Regions from separate parts of the Homo sapiens genome. Here region 1 is linked to region 2. The links are contacts of gene promoters, found by promoter capture Hi-C in blood cells and fetal thymus (Javierre and others, 2016). All regions are on one chromosome and are shown on one strand. Each heading gives the region's core, a stretch centred on a gene start or on the middle of the fragment in contact. The rest is flanking DNA. Distances are from core to core; before and after follow the strand shown. Region 1 overlaps LOC284009 (a long non-coding RNA gene). Region 2 holds the start of CLUH (CLUH binding protein of NUMT mRNA).

Region 1 (3,604 bases), core at 1,038-3,537, 310 kb after region 2:
TAGAGCTGAAAAATGTTTTCCTATATTTTATTATGGCTATTTTAGTTTTATTTTTTACATTTAGCATTTGAATTTACATTGCTGTATGGTGTGAAGTTTAAGGACCTGTCTTTTACCAGTGGTTCAGCATTATTTCAGACTAACTCATCAGAGAGGGCGCTGGGAAGCTCTAGCACTCCCCACTGAGGTGTCCCTGATGGCACAGGGAGTGGAGCAGGCTGGGCAGCAGTGGTGTGTCCTTTCCCAGTGGGCCCTGGGGCCTTGGGGAGAGATCTCATAGTGCACCTGGAGCTGAGCCCTGGCTCTGTGGTATCTGCTCTGGGCTGTGCAGCCAGTGACCGGCCACTGCTCTCGGCCTTGCCTCCAGAGAGAGCCTCATTCCTGGCATAGGCTGCTGATCTCTTGGGCTTTCAAGACTTGATGCTACAGCCTTGCATTTGGGTGTGAACTGGGGCTGCTGGGATATAGACCTTAGTCCTTTGTGTGGGGCACTGATCACATTGCAGCCCGTCGGTCCTGGGAGGTTTCTTCCCTATCACCATGTCCCCACCCCTGCGTGATCCAGCGGACTCTTGACTCCCATGGCAAGACTCCACCCGGCTTTACTCATAACTTCTGCCCAGTCCCACTCCCTTGACCTGAATTAGTTTTGCTGTCATAAAGCCACCTCTTTTTTCCTTTAAAGGAATCCCTGACATCGTCATCCGTCTCCTGTGCCTTTCCGCTGGGTCAGCCTCCTCCCACCAAGCTTCTGACCCACTGTCATCCGCAGCTGCCACTCTAGCTGCAGAGCTCGACTGGGCTCTGGTTTCTCAGAAGAGCTCAGAGGACCTGGCTCCTCCCTCTTTGCTTCTGAACTGCATTTCTTTCCTTATTACTCAGTGTCCACACCCACGGTGGCTGCCTGGATAAAAATCTGCCCCTTTCTCCCGTCACCTTTCATGCCAGACAAAAGCCCCAGTGAGTAATGGTGACCTACCCAGGTCCAGCTAGCAGCTCTCCATTCCTGAGTGGCCTGGGGCAGAACAGGGTCCTGCGAGCTCCTGGATCCCAAGTCTGATTCCCTTTCCCTGTCTTCCCGCTTATCTGCTAAGCTTGTTTATTGGGGACCACTAAGCAAAGTGAATGATTATTCCTGTCTTTAACGAGGAGGGGTGGAGTTCCCTCTCCATCTTCACCCACTTCTGGGAGGCTTTCAGGGACTCAACACCCCACACTGATAGCACTTCCCCAGGCCTGGCCCAGCCAGCCAAAGAGGAGGACCAGGCCACTTCTCAACCTAGCTGATGCTTGGCAGCTTTGTGACCTTGGATACACCTTCTCTTGGGAGGTCAGACCCCATGATCCCAGCTCTTCCAGCTATGACATCATGTGAGGCTGCAATTTTTTTTTTTTTTTTTTTGAGACAGTATCTTGCTATGTTGCCCAGGCTGGCCTTGAAATCCTGGGCTCAGGCGATTCTCCTGTCTCAGCCTCCCACGTAGCTGGAACTTAGGGCGTGAGCCACCGCGCCCAGCTTCTGGAAAGGACATGAATGGGGAGGTGGAACTTGATTGGACCTGTTCTGTGAGTTCAGGAGAGGTCCTCTGACAACTCACTTGGGGTGGGGAAAGGAGGTAAAGAGTCCTGTGGAAACTTTTGGCTGTGGGGACCCCATTTCACTGATGATTGAATGGGTCCACCTCTGTCAAAGGAATTCAGAGTCCCACTCATCATTCAGACTGGGGGAATCAGGCTCAGTTGACTGGCCCAGCCTTAAATCCACTGAATTTGTTTTTATCTCTACATAGAAAAACGGAATTACAGTTGCTTCTCACTGTCCAATGGGGATTGGTTCCTGGAGCCTCCCTGAATACCTGTCCATGGATGATGCTCAAATCCCTTACATGTAACCTATGCACATCCTCAGGTATCCTTTAACTCATCTCTGCGCTACTCAAATACCTCATACCATGTAAATGCTGTGTAAATAGTTCTTGTGCTGTGTTGGTTTTTAAATTTGTATTATTTTTTCTTGTATATTTTCCATTTTTTTTTCCTGAATATTTTTGATCCACGGTTAGTTGCCTCCATGGGTGCGGACCCACGGACACGGAGGCTGCACCTTCTGAAATGAGCATGGCGGCGCCCTCTGGGTCCTCGTGTCGTCCTGTCTCTGGTGCTGCATCCAGCACGGTGGCGAACAGCAGAACTAATCTTTTGCAAGTTATCACAGTGGAGTGGAGTTCCGCTCTGTTTGCTTTTGCCCCGCTCTGGCTTACCAGAGGTCCCCTGGCCTTGGCCACAGCATACCTAGCCTAGTGCTTGGCACCTCAGGCACACAATAAATATTTATGAAATGGATCTTCTCTGGTATGTCTTGAGTGTACTAGTCTTCTGTTTTTTCCTCTTCATCCTGCAGCCAGCTTCCTCCCATGGGTCTTGTTTTAATGATGGTATGTGAAAAGCTCCTTAGCTGCTTGCAAAAGATGAGACATCAGGCTTGAAGGGTTGGGATTTCCTGTGAACATCTGTACTTTCGGCTTCACGCCCTTTCCCCCATCTCATGACTCAGGCTTTGTAGGAGTCAGGGCACTGATTTTCATAGCTCTTGGAGTTGATACTTTGTTAGGTGAGTGGTGGGGGATAGGAAGACAGTTCCACTAAGGGGATGTCTCTGGCTCAGCATATTAAAAAATTGGGGAATTGGTGCTTCTTATTGTGGTTGGTGAAAAAAAGAATAAAAGATTAAAAAATTGGAGGACATAATGGAATTTGAACTGGGAGGTGGGGTGCACAAGACTCGGGGAGGAAGACTGAAAACGGAAACCCTCTCGTGAGAAACTCACAATGATGGACAGCCCAGCTTTTCTCCTGCTCCAAGGTACTAAGCACCCAGAAGCCATGAAGAAACTTAAGGAACAGCCGGGCGCGGTGGCTCACGCCTGTCATCCCAGCCCTTTGGGAGGCCAAGACAGGCAGATCACTTGAGGTCAGGAGTTTGAGACCAGCCTGGCCAACATGGTGAAACCCCGTCTCTACTAAAAATACAAAAATTAGCCGGGCGTGGTGGTGCGTGCTTGTAATCCCAGCTACTCCGGAGGCTGAGGCAGGAGAATCACTTGAACCTGGGAGGCAGAAGTTGCAGTGAGCCAAGATCACACCACTGCACTCCAGCCTGGGCAACAGAGGGAGACTCTATCTCAAAAAAGAAAAAAAGAAAAAGAAACTTAAGGAACACCTTTTTAGAGATTGCTGGCCTTTGGATAATTCCCCAAACCTGCTAACCTTTCTGCTGAAACCAAAAGGACTTATTTCTCTTTCTCTTGAGTGAGTACATTTGCCAGCTTCTATCCTGGCTCCACCCCCTTGGAACAGGAAGCTGGGGCTAAAATATTAAACAGCCCTCCTATTCATTCCCCTCTTCTTTCATGCCCTCACATCGCCATTTATAGGTATCTCCCACCCCCACTGTCCATTCCTCAACTGGGGAAAGCTTGGTTGATGAGGTATTGTTTTTGGCCATTTTCAGGCTCCTGTAGGCAACAATAGGTCCAGAAACAGCCTCCCCCACCCTTTTTTTTTTTTTTTTTTTTTTTTTTTGGAGACGGAGTCTCTCTCTGTG
Region 2 (3,771 bases), core at 280-2,779:
TTTAGTAGAGACGGGGTTTCACCATCTTGGCCAGGCTGGTCTCTAATTCCTGACCTCGTGATCCGCCCGCCTCTGCCTCCCAAAGTGCTGGAATTACAGGCGTGAGCCACCGCGCCCGGCTTTTTTTTTTTTTTTTTTTTTGAGACGGTGTCTGTGTCACCCAGGCAGGAGTGCAGTGGTGCGATCATAGCTCACTGCAGCTTGGAACTCCTGGGCTCAATCTGAGCCGTCCTGAGTGATACTCCCAGCTCAGCTCCCAAGTAGCTGGGACTACAGGCGCGTGCCACTACACCTGGCTTTTTTTAAACAATATTTTTTGTAGAGACGGGGGTTTTGAAATGTTGCCCAGGTTGGTCTCAAACTTCCGAATCCTGAACTCAAGTCATCCGCCTGGCTTCGGCCTCCCAAAGTGCTAGGATTACAGGCGTGAGCCGCTGCACCGCCCGGCCGAGAAGAATCTTACCAGTTCTCATCTTCCTTCCTCCCGTTTAAATGCTCACATCAAGTCGCTGGCTTTCCTCACCACGTGCTCTCCAGAACAAGGTCGGCTTTCCTTCGCAATTTGTGCGAGGCCCTACCTAAGGCCCTCCCAGCCCACCTCGGGAAGCTGAAGCTTTCCAGTTCTCATTAGAGCTTGACAAACGCTCCGAAGGTTATAGGCCTCGGGTGCTTCCCAAAGGCCCCCTGCGGCCTGGCCAGGAAAGACCCACCGGCGCTCTCTGCCTGGAGCACTTCAACTCACTGCAAGACCTGGTCCCAATGTCCCCTCTGCAGCATTCTCTGACCTCACCGTTCCGTCCCCGCCAAGCCCCTGCCAAGTGAAAAATACGAGTTAAAGCGTCCTGGCTGTGGATGGAGTCAGACCCGGCTCTACCCCTTGCTCTCTGTGTGACCTTGGTCTCGGCCTCCTCCACTGTAAAATGAGGACACCAGCCTGGAGGTGAGGACCCATGGGTCGAGGACGCGGGTAGGGAGCCCGTTCTGGCTCGGGGCAAAGTTTGGCGGGTCCATTCTGACTCTTGATCCCCATTAGCCACGTCTCGCCCTCGCCTCTCGTGCCCGTGCCCTAAGCGACCCTCCACTCCCTCAATAATCCAGCCGCACCCATTCGGCGGGAAAGGGCCTGCCGGGTGGGGAGGGCGCTGAGGGTCACGCGAACACCGCAGATGACAGACTGCGCGGTCATTTAGCAAATCTGCAAGAGAAAACAGGGGATCCTTGGAGAGGGGAGGATTAGCCATGGCAGAACCAGACCAGTCTCCACCCAAGGTCACAGTGCCCGCCCGACGGGCAGCGAGCAGCAGGGAGTCTCCCCGAGGCCCCGCCCCGCGAGGGCGCCCAGCCTCCCTGGGCCTTGAGTCAGAGTGCGTTGCCTTTAAGACGTTCTGGAAAGTCACCGCGTCCGTGGGCGGGGAACCAGGCGCGGCGCGTTTTGTCCCTCGCGGGCCGCCGTGGGCTGGGCCGGGCGCGAGGGTGGGGCAGGGAAACGGCGGCGGGGTCAAAGGCCACGGCGCGCACCACGTGGGCCGGTGACTCCGTCCTTCCCTCAGCAGCCGCGGCGCGCAGGGCACTTGGGTTAGTGGCGCGGCGGGCGGCGCGGACAGCCGAGGCGGACGCCCGCTCCCGCCACCATGGTTATCAAGACGGACGAGTTGCCGGCGGCCGCCCCGGCCGACAGCGCCCGGGAACACGGCTCGCAGGCCGGGGGCAAGGGGCGGCCGGGCGCGGCCGGTGAGCGGGGCCAGGGCCAGCGGGCCGCTGGGCGGGGGGCGCCGGACCAGGGCGGGCGGGTTCGGGACTCCGCGGGGATCGCCGCCTTCCCTCCGCGTCGGGCCCGGTTGTATCTCGCTGGGGCCTTCACCGGGTCGCCCCCGCGCTGAAGGTCACCTTCACAGTCGCCCCCGGCTGCGGCCCGGGTTTCGCACGTGCGGTCCCGTGGAGGGCAGCCTCGGCTGGCACCCTCGGCGGGCACACGCGCGCCTCATCGCGGGGACACGTGCGCGCACACGCGGTTTCGGGGTGCGCCGCCGCCGCAGACCGAAAGAATCGGCGGCCCCACCCCCTCTGCGCCCGAGCATGGGAGCTCTCTGAGCTGGGGTCGCTCCGACGTTTGCGGGACAGCCCCCTTCGGCACCTGCTCCGCGGCGGCCTCCCAGGCATCCCCTGTGCGCAGGGCTGCAGCCCTGGGAGTGAAGCTCCGCTCGAGGCTTCCCAGGCTTGGTTTGTGGGAAGAGCACGAGGTGCGGGGTGTGCGTTGTGAGGGGCGTCCCTGGTTCATGCCCTGAGGCCAGGCTATAACCGCAGGTCTTCAGGCTGTGGCGGAGACTCTCAGGTGTGTTGGCCTGCTCGGCCGACCTGGTGTAGGGGGCGTCTGCCTTTGCATGGGGCAGAGCCAAACTCCTTGGCAGGGGGAAGTGTTTGTGCCAGAACTTGATCATTAACCTGCCTTATTGCGAAAAGTGGGTCAGACCAGAGTTGCTGTTTTTAAGGCAAAGGTCGTTAGTGTGGAGTCAAGCTCCCAGCGATCCCCCATGGGGGCTGTATGGTGGTGACTGTGGCAGTGGCTGCAGCTTGTCTCGGGTGGGGCCTGCTTTCCCTTTCTCCTGAGCCCCTTCTCTTCCTTCTGTTCCCTCCACCGTGTCTCAGACTCCAGCCTTGGGGCTGGAATCCCCTTCCCAGGCCCTCAGTCGTCATCTTCCTCAGGCCCTCTTTGCTCTGGGTGGCAGTGGAGGTGCAGAGCTACTCCTGTCCCCCAGTCCCTCCCTCCTCCGTCGACTGTCCTCAGTTGGGACTTGTGGTCTTAACGCCTCATCATCTCCCTTCCTAGCTTCAGTGAGTGCGCCAGGGCTGACTTGGGAATCAGGATGGGGACAGCGTTCAGCCCTCTGACCCTGTTCCCATCATAGCGGAGTTGCCTTGGGGTGAGGGACAGGTGCTGGGGCAGTACTGCTGATTGTCTAGACAAGGCCAAGGTTTGGGCAGAAGAGCAGATGCTCATCGCCCCAACCTACCAGGCTTTGTGCTGATGTGGCTCTGAATCAGTGGGGGCAGGCTGGATGAGAGGAGGTTGGCTGATTTCCCCTCTAGCAGAGACCCGAAGAGTCGAAGTGACTTGCCCAAGGTCACACAGCGATTTAGCTGTTAAGGGAAGTGTTTGGATTCCAGCTCATGGCCAGCAAGCCAAGGCTGCCGTGGCCTGGCCCAGAGGAAGCTGGGACAGGCGTGTTGGTTTGGATCCCGTGCTGAGAACTAGGGGGCTGACGAGCGTCTGTTGGAGGATTTCTGTGAGGGAGTCAGTGAAGCCCCTTCCTAACTCTGCTGGGGGTGGGGGGGCTCTGTCGGGGGTAAACTGAGTCAGGGAAGGGCACAGCTATTTGTTTTGGGGAAACTGGGAGCATACTCGTGGGCAGGACATGGGCTCCTACGTCCCTGGGAAGGTAGTACAGCTAGCTAGGACTTACGTTACAGCCAGCCCGGATCTATTGAAAGAAGGAAGGAGCCTTAATGAAGACCCCCCAGCTGGGGCCCACCTGAGCATCAGAACCAAGGCTTCTGACCTCTGAGATCCAGCTCTGGAAGGCTCTTCAGCCCCCTTAGGAAGGAGCTGATCTAGGCCATTGAGGGTCGGGGGCAAGGGTTGGTTACCTTCCTGGGAATACAGCGGCTTTTAGGGGTTAAGAGAACAGGCAGGTTTTTCAGGTCCACAGTGGTGCGTCAGGTTCCTTCTGCCCAGGGGAGGGCTCCCTGGAGTTGAGGCCCAGAGGGGGAGGA

Evidence for each region. Contacts are between HindIII fragments. The CHiCAGO score rates a contact against its expected background, and 5 or more counts as called.
Region 1: a fragment that was not itself captured here is called in contact with the fragment with the promoter of CLUH in region 2 in 1 of 17 cell types (fetal thymus); the score reaches 5.6 in fetal thymus.

Annotation. Positions count from the first base shown.
Region 1 is chr17:2,404,312-2,407,915 of GRCh38, reverse strand. It overlaps LOC284009 (a long non-coding RNA gene), which reads left to right. Exons shown (of 3, transcript NR_028335.1): 3 at 686-935. Among named protein-coding and RNA genes, the nearest start is that of MNT, 5.1 kb to the right of the region's middle. The HindIII fragment of the contact is 2,381 bases long and covers 1,097-3,477 here.
Region 2 is chr17:2,709,522-2,713,292 of GRCh38, reverse strand. It overlaps CLUH (CLUH binding protein of NUMT mRNA), which reads left to right and starts at 1,529. Exons shown (of 26, transcript NM_001366661.1): 1 at 1,529-1,731. The coding sequence starts at 1,632. LOC105371592 (a long non-coding RNA gene) reads right to left here and starts at 984. Exons shown (of 2, transcript NR_136412.1): 1 at 894-984; 2 at 460-811. RefSeq lists enhancers at 264-1,159, 1,160-2,056, 2,891-2,970 and silencers at 1,221-1,400, 1,531-1,650. The HindIII fragment of the contact is 7,311 bases long and covers 616-3,771 here.